Linked DNA regions of Homo sapiens: regions 1 and 2 are each linked to region 3. The links are contacts of gene promoters, found by promoter capture Hi-C in blood cells and fetal thymus (Javierre and others, 2016). All regions are on one chromosome and are shown on one strand. Each heading gives the region's core, a stretch centred on a gene start or on the middle of the fragment in contact. The rest is flanking DNA. Distances are from core to core; before and after follow the strand shown.

Region 1 (4,411 bases), core at 1,765-4,264, 230 kb before region 3:
TGTGCGGTGGCTCACACCTGTAATCCCAGCACTCTGGGGGGCCGAGGCAGGCAGATCACAAGGTCAGGAGATCGAGACCATCCTGGCTAATACAGTGAAACCCCATCTCTACTAAAAATACAAAAATTAGCCAGGTGTGGGGGCGCGTGCCTGTGGTCCCAGCTACTCAGAAGGCTGAGGGAACAGAATTGCTTGAACCCAGGAGGCAGAGGTTGCAGTGAGCCGAGATCGTGCCACCGCAATCCAGCCTGGACAGTAGAGACTCCCCCTAAAAAAATAAAATAAATAAATAAATAAATAAACCCTACTTCTTAAAAGAAAAGAAAAACCTATGTTATTACCTTGATTTCTCATTGGAATGGTTAGTAGAGCAAGGTATGGCAATAGCTGAGTTTGGAGGCATAAAGCTGGTAGGCAGAAGTCAGGAAAAAGTGCTTTTGCTGCCAGGCAATTTTCCCGATACTGTATAGAAAAGAAAAAAAAAAGATGAAAGGAAAAATGAAATTAAAAATATGTATTCCTAGACAAACTAAGTTTATTATATAAACTTACACAATAAGTTTATATTAACTTGTGGGTTTATATATCACAAATATACTTTTAATAGCTTATTTAAGTAGTCCTTTATAGTTTTTTTAGCATCGTTTAATAAAGTATTTTACCTACACAACTATTCCACATTTAATAAACAACAATTTTTAAAAGACATTGAATGTATAAGAAAACCAAATTTAAAACTCAAAGGAATTGTTTATGAGCACACACACATCATAAATTACACGAAAATAGTTTTCAATGAAATAATTTGTTTTCTTTAGTCAACACGTTATGCTGAGCAAGAGAAAAGCACAATCCCTGCCTTCAAGAAGCTAACAGTCTTAGATAATTTATATGCAGCAACAATGCAAAATTAATATATATGCTATAAAAGACAAAGCAAGTCAATGAGATATAAATTGCTTAAAAGTCATTAAATTCTCCAAGAAATCTGTTGGAAAAAATGTCCTAGGTAATAAATTATAGGGTAATTTTCAGCTGTATGATTTTAGAACTGGAAGACATCTCAGAGACGACCCAGTCCAGGGGTCACGAATTCAGATATTACAGAAGTCAAGCAGGCAATATAAGTGAATGAACCAGCTGGGGACAGTGGTGCCTACTACTCTCATCTCAAAGGGGCAGATGCTACATGGCGAGGTGATTGTTGCTACGCAGAAATATGAGCCAGTGTTATACTTCACTTTCATTTTTTTGAGAGATGGGGGTCTCACTCTGTTGCCCAGGCTGGAGTGCAGTGGCACAATCATTGTTCACTGCAAACTCTGCCTCCCAGGCTTATGCAATCCTCCCAATTCAGCCTCCCAAGTAGCTGGGACTAGGTAGGAAAAACAAAAAAAATTTTTCCTTTTTCCTGTAGATATGGGATCTCACTATATTGCTGGTCTCAAATTCCTGGTGTTTGCCACCACACCCAGCTAATTTTTTTATTATTTTTTTTTTTATACAGATGGGGTTTCACCATATTGCCCAGGCAGGTCTCAAACTCCTGGGCTCTAGTGATCCTTCCACCTCAGCTTTCCAAAGTGCTCGGATTACAGGTGTGAGCCACTGCACCTGGCCTCTTTTTTTTTTTTTTTTTTTTAACCAGGAGATTCCAGAAATTCTGAAGCTAGAAATTCATATCTAACTTTTTTTTTTTCTTTCTGAGACAGAGTCTTTTTCTGTCGCCTAGGCTGGAGTGCAGTGGCATGATCTCGGCTCACTGCAACTTCTGCCTCCCGGGTTCACGCGATTCTCCTGCTTCGGCCTCCTGAGTAGCTGGGATTACAGGAGCGCACCACCACACCTGGCAAACTTTTGTATTTTTAGTAGCGATGGGGTTTCACCATGTTAGTCAGGCTGGTCTCGAACTCCTGACCTTGTGTTCTGCCCGCCTCAGCCTCCCAAAAGTGCTGGGATTACAGGTGTGAGTCACAGCGCCCAGCCGAAATTCATATCTGACTTTTAATCATTAGTCTGATTTTTAAAGATTGGCAATTCATTTTGAAAACTGTTGTGTATTTTGTTTTCAACTTGTGTGCCTCCCATTTTTTACCTCTAAATAATTCAATCATCTACATTTTTAGCTGTGGAGAGTAAGAACACATTAGGTGAATACCTTGTCCATATAGAGGCAAGGCCAAGATTTCTTCTCCTTTCTTTGATTAATTTAAATTGACAAATAAGCTCTGTATGTATTTATAGGTATACAACATGATGTTCTGAAATATGTATATATGGTAGAATGGCTAAATTGAGCCAATTAACATATGCATTACCTTACATACATATATTTTTTGTGTGTGGTGAGAACACTTAAAATCTACCGTTTTAGTGATTTTCTTTTTTTTTTTTTAGATGGAGTCTCGCTCTGTCTCTCAGGCTGGAGTGCAGTGGCGCCATGTCAGCTCACTGCAAGCTCCGCCTCCTGGGTTCACGCCATTCTCCTGCCTCAGCCTCCAGAGTAGTTGGGACTACAGGCGCACGCCGCCACACCCGGCTAAGTTTTTTTATTTTTAGTACAGACAGGGTTTCATCGTGTTAGCCAGGATGGTCTCCATCTCCTGACCTCGTGATCTGCCCGCCTCAGCCTCCCAAAGTGCTGGGATTACAGGCGTGAGCCACCATGCCCGGCCATGATTTTCAAATACATGACACATTGTTGTTAATAGTCACCATGTTATACAACATATCTCTTGAACTTAAAACTTATTCCTCCTGGCCAGCGAGGCTCCGTCTCAAAAACCAAAAACAAAAAAAACTTATTCCTCCTGCCTAACTGAAATTTTATATACTAGGGATTTCTATTTTCCAATCAGCATTCTCAGGTTGAACTAGGGTTTATTTATTTACAATTTTTTTCTTTTTCTTGTAGATATGGGATCTCACTATGTTGACCAGGCTGGTCTCAAACTCCTGGGCTCAAGTGATCCTCTTGTTTTGGCCTTCCACAGTGCTGGGATTACAGGTGTGAGCCACCATGCCTGGCCCTAAAGTTTGTTTTTAATTGAAACTGAAATATAACTATGCAGCTGGGCACAGTGGCTCATGCCTGTAATCCCAGCACTTTGAGAGGCCAAGGCGGGCAGATCACTTAAGGTCAGGAGTTCAAGAACAGCCTGGCCAACATGGCAAAACCCCATCTCTACTAAAAATACAAAAATTAGCTGGGCATGGAGGTAGATGCCTGTAATCCCAGCTACTCAGGAGGCTGAGGTGGGAGAATTGCTTGAACCTAGGAGGTAGAGGTTGCAGTGAGCAGAGATGGCACCACTGCACTCCAGCCTAGGCAAGAGAACGACTCTGTCTGAATAAAAATAAAAAATAAAAAATAAAATATGGCCGAGCATGGTGTCTCACATTTGTAATCCCAGCACTTTGAGAGGCCAAGGCAAGAGGATCATGAGGTCCAAAGATCGAGACCAACCTGGCCAACATGGTGAAACCCTGTCTCTACTAAAAATACAAAAAATTAGCCAGGCGTGGTGGCTGGCGCCTGTAATCCCAGCTACCTGGGAGGCTGAGGCAGGAGAACTGCTTGAACCCGGGAGGCGGAGGTTGCAGTGAGCCGAGATCATGCCATTGCATTCCAGCCTGGGCAAAAAGAGCGAAACTCCGTCTCAAAAAATAAAAAAATAAAAAATAAAATAAAATGTAACTACGCTTTGATTCCAATAAAACTGAACTAATATTTTCAAATTGTGATGGTCTTTTTTCCCTTAAAAAATTGTACAAGCATTTAAGAGTCACCTTTTTATGTTTTATAAAAACTCAGAATCTAATTGTGGACCTTAGCAACTATTTTATTAAAAATGAAATATTTTTTCCTTTGTTATGTTTTAAAGAAAATAACTGCTTTGAGTTATAATTCACGTACCATAAAGTTCACATATTGAAAGTACAGAATTTTTTTTTTTTTTTTTACCTTTTTATTTATTAGAAACCACTGAGGTTTGTGCAAGGGTCGAAAACTTGATCCTCCTCCTTGGCAATGAGCATATCCTCGGGCTTTGTTGGAATGCATCACACCTCTCGTAGCTATAGATGTGCTATATTCCCTGAGTAAAGAGCGTGTCTAACAAATGAGACAAGATGTGAAAGAAAATAGATTTATAAAAGAGCATTACTGGTATTCCTGATATATACAAAAATACTAACCGTATTTAGTTTCTATGTGTTCACTTTCTTCAACATCACTACAGCCCTATAAATAACAGCACTATAAACTTATCTAAAGCAAATTCCACTGGGACATAGCCATCAAATTAAATGTGTAAACCCTGACTGGATCTTGGACAGGGGTGGAGGAAACAACTTTGAATACATTTTTGAGGCAAATGAGGAAATCTGAATAGGGACAATATATTGCTAG
Region 2 (4,117 bases), core at 1,327-3,826, 180 kb before region 3:
TTCTGTACCTTTCTTTTTTCACTTACTATATTTGAAGATTATATCATCTCAGTACAGACCTCCCTGTTCTTTTTTTTAGTTGAGATAGATATACATATCATACAATAAAATTTACCATTTTGAAGTGTATAATCAGAACCGGGTATGGTGGCTTATGCCTGTAATCCCAGCAAATGGGGAGGCTGAGGTGGAGAATCGCTTGAGGCAGGAGTTCAAGACCAGCCTGGGCAACATAGTGAGACCTTAGACTCTAAAAATAAACATAAATAAAATTTATAATCCGTTGGTTTTTAGCTTATTAACAAGGTTATGTAACTGTCACCACTGTGGAGGAAGCAGTGATGATAAAGGGAACTCCTATACCCTTTAGCAGTCACTCTCTATTCTTTCCTCCTCATCCCCTTGCAGTCACTAGTCTACTTTCTGTCTCTATGGATTTGCATATTCTGGATATTTCATATAAATGGGATTATACAGTATGTGGCCTTTTGTGTCCAGTTTCTTTCACTTAGCATAATGTTTTCAAGGTTCATCTAAGTTATAGCATGTACCAATATCTCATTCCTTTTTATGGTTGAATAATATTCCATTATATGGATTTACCACATTTTGCTTATGTTTCCATCACTTGCACAATTGGGTTGTATCCACTTTGGGTATTGTGAAGTTGAATACATAATAGTAGCATACTATGAGCATTCATGTACAAGATTCCATGTGGATGTATGTTTTCAGTTTTCTTAGGCATATACCTGGGAGGGGAATTGCTGGGTCATAGGGCAACCATGTTTAACTTTTTGAGGAAATGCCAAACTGGTTTCCAAAGTGGTTGCAGCATTTTATGTTCCCACCATCAATGTATTAGGGACTCAGTTTCTTCACATTCTTGCTAACACTTGTTACGGTCTATATTTGTTGATTTTTACCATTTCAGCGATTTTTATTAGGCTAAGTGTGTGTGTATGTTCTGTAACTTACTTCACTTGCAGGCATGACAGGGTGAGGTCTGTCTCTCTACATGGGCCACTCCCGGGGTCTGGTCACAATATACCACCACAGGGGGCAAAGCTTCAGTCCTAGACCACCAGTTGGGATTTCCTCCTGCAGCTGCTTAACCTCTCACTCCTGGCTTTGCCTCAGCAGTTTCTTCCACTGCTCTCTCTTGGCTAAGTAATCAGGGTACATTGCCTTCTCAGAAGGATTCCAGTCATCTAAGCACCACTCCAGAGACTTGTAGCATATCACTCGTATCTCTCATAGGAAGTACCCCCAGAGAGTCAGGGAAGAGAATGGCTGTGAATGCTGACGATACCAGAATTCCTCTGCCTCCCTCAGCAGTGGGGTAGCCTCCATCATACCCTTTTTTTTTTTCCTATGCTCTTCAAACCAGGCTCTCATCAAACAGGCAAAATATACCATTATTTATCTCTGGATGCACCATGGCTTGAGGTGGTACAGCGCCTGGTTACAAAGCAGCAACACCTTCTGGTGATAGGTCAAGTAGGCCCTCCAGCATCGAGAACACCATGACTGCTTGATCCCATCTTTTTTTTTTTTTGAGACGGAGTCTTGCTCTGTCGCCCAGGCTGGAGTGCAGTGGTGCAATCTCGGCTCACTGCAAGCTCCACCTCCCGAGTTCACGCCATTCTCCTGTCTCAGTCTCCCAAGTAGCTGGGACTACAGGCGCCTGCCACCACGCCCGGCTAATTTTTGTATTTTTAGTAGAGACGGGGTTTCACCATGTCAGGCAGGATGGTCTCGATCTCCTGACCTCGTGATCTGCCCACCTTGGCCTCCCAGAGTGCTGGGATTAGAGGCGTGAGCCACCGCGCCTGGCCTTTTTTTTTTTTTTTTTTTTTTTTTTTTTGAGGCAGTCTCACTCTTGTTGCCCAGGCTGGAGTGCAATGGCGTGATCTCAGCTCACTGCAGGTTCAAGGGTTCAACCTCCACCTCCCAGGTTCAAGCGATTCTCTTGCCTCAATCTCCCAAGTAGCTGGGATTACAGGCATGCACCACCATACCCGGCTGATTTTGTATTTTTAGTAAAGACAGAGTTTCTCCCTCGAACTCCCAACCTCAGGTAATCTGCCCGCCTCAGCCTCCCAAAGTGCTGGGATTGCAGGCGTGAGCCACCTTGCCTGGCAACTCCCATCTTTTTTATTATAACTATACTAGTGGGTGAGTAGTATATCACATTTTGGTTTTGATTTACATTTCTCTAATGATTTATGATGAGCATCTTTTCATGTGCCTATTGGTTTATCTTCTTTGGATCCCTCATCTTTTTAATGTTTGCATAAAATGGCATTAATGAGGCTAGGCCCAGTGGCTCATGCCTGTAATCCCAACACTTTGGGAGGCCGAGGTGGGTGGATCACCTGAGGTCAGGAGTTTGAGACCAGCCTAACCAACATGGTGAATCCTTGTTTCTACTAAAATACAAAAATTAGCCGGGCGTGGTGGTGGGTGCCTGTAATCTCAGCTACTTGAGAGGCTGAGGCAGGAGAATCGCTTGAACCGAGGAGGTGGAGGTTGCAATGAGCCGAGATTGCACCATTGCACTCCATCCTGGGCAATAAGAGTGAAACTCCCATCTCAAAAAAAAAAAAAAAAAAAAAAAGCCATTAATGATATGCCAAGTACCCAGGCACTGTGGCTCACACTTGTAATCCTAGGACTTTGGGAGGCCAAGGCGGGCGGATGACTTAAGCCCAGGAGTTTGAGACCAACCTGGCCGACATGGTGAAACACTGTTCCTAAAAATAAATAAATAAATTAATTAATTAAGTAAATAGGCCAGGCCGGGCGCGGAGGCTCACGCCTGTAATCCCAGCACTTTGGGAGGTCGAGGCAGGCAGATCACGAAGTCAGGAGATTGAGACCATCCTGGCTAACACGGTGAAACCCCGTCTCTACTAAAAATACAAAAAATTAGCCAGGCGTGATGGCAGGCACCTGTAGTCCCAGCTACTCGGGAGGCTGAGGCAGGAGAATGGCATGAACCCGGGAGGCAGAGCTTGCAGTGAGCCGAGATAGTGCCTCTGCACTCCAGGCTGGGCCACACTCTGTCGCAAAAAAAAAAAAAATAGGTCAGGCATGGTGGCTCACTCCTGTAATCTCAGCACTTTGGGAGGCCTAGGTGGGAGGATCACTTGAGCTCAGAAGTTCGAGACCAGCCTGGGCAACATAGTGAGACCTCGTCTCTATTTAAAAAAAAGAAAAAAGAGGCTGGGCATAGTGGCTCATGCCTGTAATCCCAGCACTTTAGGAGGCCAAGGCAGGTGGATCACTTGAGATTAGGAGTTCGAGACCAGCCTGGCCAACATGGTGAAATCTCGTCTCTACCAAAAATACAAAAACTAGCCAGGCATGGTGGTGCATGCCTGTAATCCCAGCTACTCCGGAGGCCGAGGCAGGAGAATCGCTTTAACTCAGGCAGCGGAGGTTGGAGTGAGCTCAGATTGTGCCACTGCATTCCAGCCTGGGCAACAGAGTGAGACACTGTCTCCAAAAAAATGAATAAATAAATAAAAATAAAATAATAGCCCAGAGTGGTGGCATGCACCTATAGTCCCAGCTACTCAGGAGGCTGACGCAGGAGGATCACCTGAGCCTGAGGAGGTCGAGGCTGCAGTGAGCTGTGATTGAGCCACTGCACTCCATCCTGGGCGGACAGAGTGAGAACTTGTCTCAAAAAAAAAGACATGCCAAGTTTGATTTAATCAGTCCTCTCACTAATGGACATTTAGGCTGTTTCCAGCTTTTTACTATTACAATGATGCAAGAATAATAAAGAGTAAATATATTACTATGACATAAACTTCTAAACACATTTCAAAAGTGAATTCTTTATCCACATGACCACTCTCTGAGGTAGATGTTATTATTATTTCCATTACAGGAACCAAGGCACAGAAGAGTTAAGTGGCTTATCCAAGATAATAGCTAAAAAGTATTAGCTTCAGTGTTCTATCTTAGGCAGGCTTTCACTCACTAAGTTGTGTTCCCTAATGCATATGCGTTATGCATATGAGCAAGTTTATCTGTTGAGTAAATTCCCAAAGACAAATTGTACGCAAGCTTAACATTTAGTAGACTAATTTTTTTTCTTTTTTTT
Region 3 (4,406 bases), core at 646-3,145:
TTTAAAAAAACAGAGCTTCAGAATACAGTTCATTGCAATTTCATCAAAGCAGCCTCCTCTACATGACCTACCTTTCCTTCACAGGTAGGTCTATCATAGAATACATTTACATACCTTATATTTAATAAAAAGTTATTATTTTTGAGGCTAAGTGTTAATTCATCTTCTTAACCACTCCCTGAAAAGTTGCCTTCTTCCTGTTTTACTCCTTTGCATATTCCAATGTTACAGGCTTATTATTTAGTAGCCATATGCAGCAGTAAAAAAATTCAAGAGAACATTCTATGTTTACGCCAATAAATTCTGCAGAGATGGCTTGTAGTTGGATAACAAAGCCTTTGGCTCAGACAGCTACTACTTAATATCATTAACGAAGGAATATAAGACAGTTGACAATTAAAAGCATAGATTCTGAAGCCAGACAGCCTGAGCTTGAATCCCATATGGGCCACTTACCTGTGTGACCCTGACATAACCTCTCTAAAGCCATGATTTAAATAGTAGAGGTGACAATACCTCAGAGAGTACGTGTAAAGATTATGTGAGTTAATGCATGTAAAATGTTAGGCAGAGCTTGCCTCATGCTAAGCACTCAATAAATGGTATTAATATTACTATTCATTTGAATGCTCTTGCATGTATCAGTGAAATAAGGGACAAGAAATAATCAACAGACTCTACAATGGTAAGAATAAGTTTACCAAAATAGGCTCAGGCGAAAGTTTTTCTTCTTTAACAGGCTCAGGTTCTGGCTCAGGTTCTGGCTCTGGCACTGGCTCAGACACTGGCACTGGCACCAGCATAGGTACCTTTTCAAGAGGTTTTGGTAGTTTTTTATCAATGACTTTTCCAGTAGCTGAAGGTTTTGCTTCCTGTAGATGAAACAGAGAGAATGAAATGTTTCTGCATCAAAGGCCACAGTTGGAAGGCGGGCTCTTACAGAAGTTAGGTCAGGAAGAGAGTTACCTTCTTCATAGGCATTTTGGCCTGCAGTTGTTCACTGACTTTGTTACCAATGTCCCCAAGAGCTGTTCTTGGCCTCAGTCCGGGCTTGGAGGTTGCAGCAGGGGCCGTAGGAACGCGCTTTGCGCCTGCCATGTTGATCTTCGCCTTATTTTCAGCATTAATTTTCGAGTTCTGAAAGAAGCAAGACCACTTTAAGAGCTGATCCACGAAGGCTCGAGTAAGTCAAGGGTTAATTAAGGTGGGGCACAAGGAGAAGTTCCCAGAAAGAAAGCCGACTAAAAATGGGTTCCGAGGGAAAACATGGGTCCCAGAGTCTACTCTGCGGCCGTGACAAGTCAGTTTCCGCCGACCTCTACATTTACCAATTGAGGGATTCCCTGATTAGTCCTGGCCAGCCCTAAAATACCGAGAATTTACATTTGAAAGGAAACCGAAAAAGCCTCCAATTGCAGACACCTTCTCTCTGGGAAGGGGGTTACAGAGTTGCTGGCGGGCCCACTCAGGGACCCTCTATCACTTTTTCAAAAGGTTCCCAGTCGACTCTCCACCTCCCCAAAACATTTATCCAATATCCGTCCAGTTCTCTTTCTCACCTTCCTCCCTCCATCCATCGTCCCCCACACTCTCTCACCAGGCCTGGGCCCACCTCGGCGCTCTCTTGGTGAGTCCCCTCCCACCTTCCTCCCCAAATCGCTCCTGCGGCCCTCTCCCGCTCGGGAGGCTCCCGCAGGCGAGGCAGGGAGAGCAGGCAGCAGCTAAGAAGGCCGCGTTAGTTCGCAGTCCGAAGCGGCTCACCCTGGTGACTCGGAGCGCCATGGCTTCCTCTTCACCAGGCAGCAGCTCAGCGGGGAGAAGCAGAACACCGGAGGCCCGACCAGCCAAGGACCTACACCCAGCAGAAACCAACAGCCGTTCCGCCGCAGCACGCCGAGAAGAGCCAGCCTAGCCTCAGATTTAAACCCCGCACTGCTCCCTCCTTATTGGCCTGTTCGTGGCACTCACTCCCTTCCCATTGGCGGCTGCCGGTCGCAGAGAATGCGTTTCCAGGGCGATCGCGCGAAGGCGTTCGAGAGGGGCGGGGCCACAGTGAGGCTAGGCCGGAAGGCCTGGCCAGGCTCTCACGTGGTCTGCCTCTGCGCCTGCGCTCTCGGGCAGCTGCAGCGGCCACCTGGAGAGCAGTGAAGCCAGTGCGCCGCCCACCTGGAAAGGTTAGCCGGGCAAGAGTGTGCGTTGCCAATGCCAGCTCAGGAAAGGCCTAGTGGCCTTTGGAAGGTGACAGAGGCGCGGCCACAGTCTCAGAAGTGTCAAAAGTAGTTTTGGATCTAGTGTTGCACACTTTCCATTTCTACGGTAGCAGCAATAATATAGTTCATGAAAGGCTTTAATAGACATTCTTTCATTTGATCGTTGCAACAACTCTCTGGGTTGGAGGAACTGAAGCTCAGCGACTTAGATGACTTTGCCAGGGTCACACATTAGCAACGGGGGAACTGAATTTAGGGTTTTTTTTTTTGAGGGGGAGGGAGGGGGTGTATCCGTGTTGTTTTCACAACACTGATTGTCCCTTAACAATATTACTTGATTACTTCAAGATTGTCCAGTTTCCCAAGGCCAATTGTTTTGTTTGTTTTAGCTTTCTATTTGGAAATAATTTCATACTTAGACCAGTTGCCAACAAAAATCTTGTAAGGAATATTTCTATGCCCTTTACTCAGATTCAACTATCCTTAACATGTATTTGCCTCTCATGGGAAAATCAGGAAAAACTAAACAAAAAGACATTTTACCCCATTTGCTTTGTCATTTGCTCAGATTCTCTCTAGATCCAAAGAAAAACAAGAGGGTTCTTTTTGCCTTCTACTCCTCAAAACACACCAGCAGCTCAGCAATTGGAGGGGAGGCTGAAGGACAAAAACATTGCTATCCCATAGAGCAACGGTATAAGAGCCAATAGAGACTCCTGGCGCTGGAAGTCACGGATCCGAAAGAAGGCGCCCAATCATTTGGTTTCTTTGGATCGTTATTGAGTCTTCTGTCATCATAGTTCACCCTCCTACTCGAATGCCTCCCGTGGGGCCCTTACCCTTGCTCTCCTCTGCCTGGAATGCCCGCCTCTTCTTGCATTCAAGCCCCTGGGTTCTATTCAGGTAACTCCCATTCATCCTTCAGTTCTGTGTTCAACATCCATTCTCACTCAGTCTTTCTGGGTTTGATCAATCCTTCCTCGCCCCATGCAGGGGCGAGAGGCAAGGGGCGAAGCAGGATTACTTATCCTCTGTGTTCCAGTTTAAAAATTTTTTTTTTTACTTTTTTTTGAGACGGAGTCTCGATCTGTCGCCCAGGCTGGAGTGCAGTGGTGCGATCTCGACTCACTGCAACCTCCACCTCCAGGGTTCACTCCATTCTCCTGCCTCAGCCTCCCGAGTAGCTGGGACGGCAGGCGCCCGCCACAACGGCCGGCTAATTTTTTGTATTTTTGGTAGAGACGGGGTTTCACCATGTTAGCCAGGATGGTCTCGATCTCCTGACTTGGTGATCCGCCCGCCTCGGCCTCCCAAAGTGCTGCGATTACAGGCGTGAGCCACCACGCCCGGCCAAATTTTTCCTTTTATATGCTTTATTTTTTAGAGCAGTTTTAGGTTCGCAGCAAAACTTAGCAGAAAGTATAGAGCATTTCACCTGCCTTCCCCACTATTGACACCCCACATTAAAGTTGTACTTTAATTATAATCTGTTAACCTACATTGACACCACAGTATTACCCAAAGTCCATAGTTTACATTAAGGTTCACTCTAGGTGTTGTGTCTTCTACGGGTTTTGACAAATATATAATGACGTATAATGTCCACCCGCCTCAACCTCCCAAAGTGCTGGTATTGAAGGCGTGAGCCACTGCACCTGGCGGTCAGAATGGTTTCTTTTACTCAAATATGCATTTAAGGTTCTTCCATGTTTTTTTCATGGGTTGGGATCTCATTTTATTTTAGCCCTGAATAATATTGCATTGTCTGGATGTACTAGTTTATTTATTCAGTCACCTACTAAGTGACATCTTGATTGCGTCCAAGTTTTGGTATGAATATAACTGCTACTAACATCTGTGTGCAGATTTTTGAGTGGACGTAAGTTGTTTTTGTTTTTCGTTTGTTTGTTTGTTTTTTGAGACGGAGTCTTGCTTTGTTGCCCAGGCTGGAGTGCGGTGGCGCCATCTAGGCTCACTGCAAGCTCCGCCTCCCGGGTTCACGCCATTCTCCTGCCTCAGCCTCCCAAGTAGCTGGGACTATAGGCGCCCGCCACCAGGCCTGGCTAATTTTTTGTATTTTTAGTACAGACGAGGTTTCACCATGTTAGCCAGGATGGTCTCGATCTCCTGACCTCGTGATCCACCCTCCTCGGCCTCCCAAAGTGCTGGGATTACAGGCGTGAGCCACTGTGCCCG

What was found. The method cuts DNA at HindIII sites, captures the fragments that hold promoters and counts their contacts. A CHiCAGO score of 5 or more calls a contact.
Region 1: a contact is called between a fragment that was not itself captured here and the fragment with the promoter of CCNB1 in region 3, in 12 of 17 cell types (non-activated CD4 T cells, neutrophils, naive CD8 T cells and 9 more). The highest score is 10.6, in non-activated CD4 T cells.
Region 2: a fragment that was not itself captured here is called in contact with the fragment with the promoter of CCNB1 in region 3 in 17 of 17 cell types (neutrophils, total CD8 T cells, monocytes and 14 more); the score reaches 21.2 in neutrophils.

What each region holds. Positions count from the first base shown.
Region 1 is chr5:69,396,100-69,400,510 of GRCh38, reverse strand. RAD17 (RAD17 checkpoint clamp loader component) reads right to left here. Exons shown (of 19, transcript NM_133338.3): 16 at 3,965-4,114; 17 at 342-462. Among named protein-coding and RNA genes, the nearest start is that of MARVELD2, 17 kb to the left of the region's middle. The HindIII fragment of the contact is 7,678 bases long and covers 1-4,411 here.
Region 2 is chr5:69,347,346-69,351,462 of GRCh38, reverse strand. It overlaps AK6 (adenylate kinase 6), which reads left to right. Exons shown (of 5, transcript NM_016283.5): 5 at 1-479. It also overlaps the pseudogene NDUFB9P1. Among named protein-coding and RNA genes, the nearest start is that of CCDC125, 17 kb to the right of the region's middle. The HindIII fragment of the contact is 3,012 bases long and covers 1,071-4,082 here.
Region 3 is chr5:69,164,639-69,169,044 of GRCh38, reverse strand. CCNB1 (cyclin B1) reads right to left here and starts at 1,895. Exons shown (of 9, transcript NM_031966.4): 1 at 1,762-1,895; 2 at 967-1,137; 3 at 702-872. The coding sequence starts at 1,782. RefSeq lists enhancers at 1,640-1,869, 1,250-2,215. The HindIII fragment of the contact is 10,262 bases long and covers 1-4,406 here.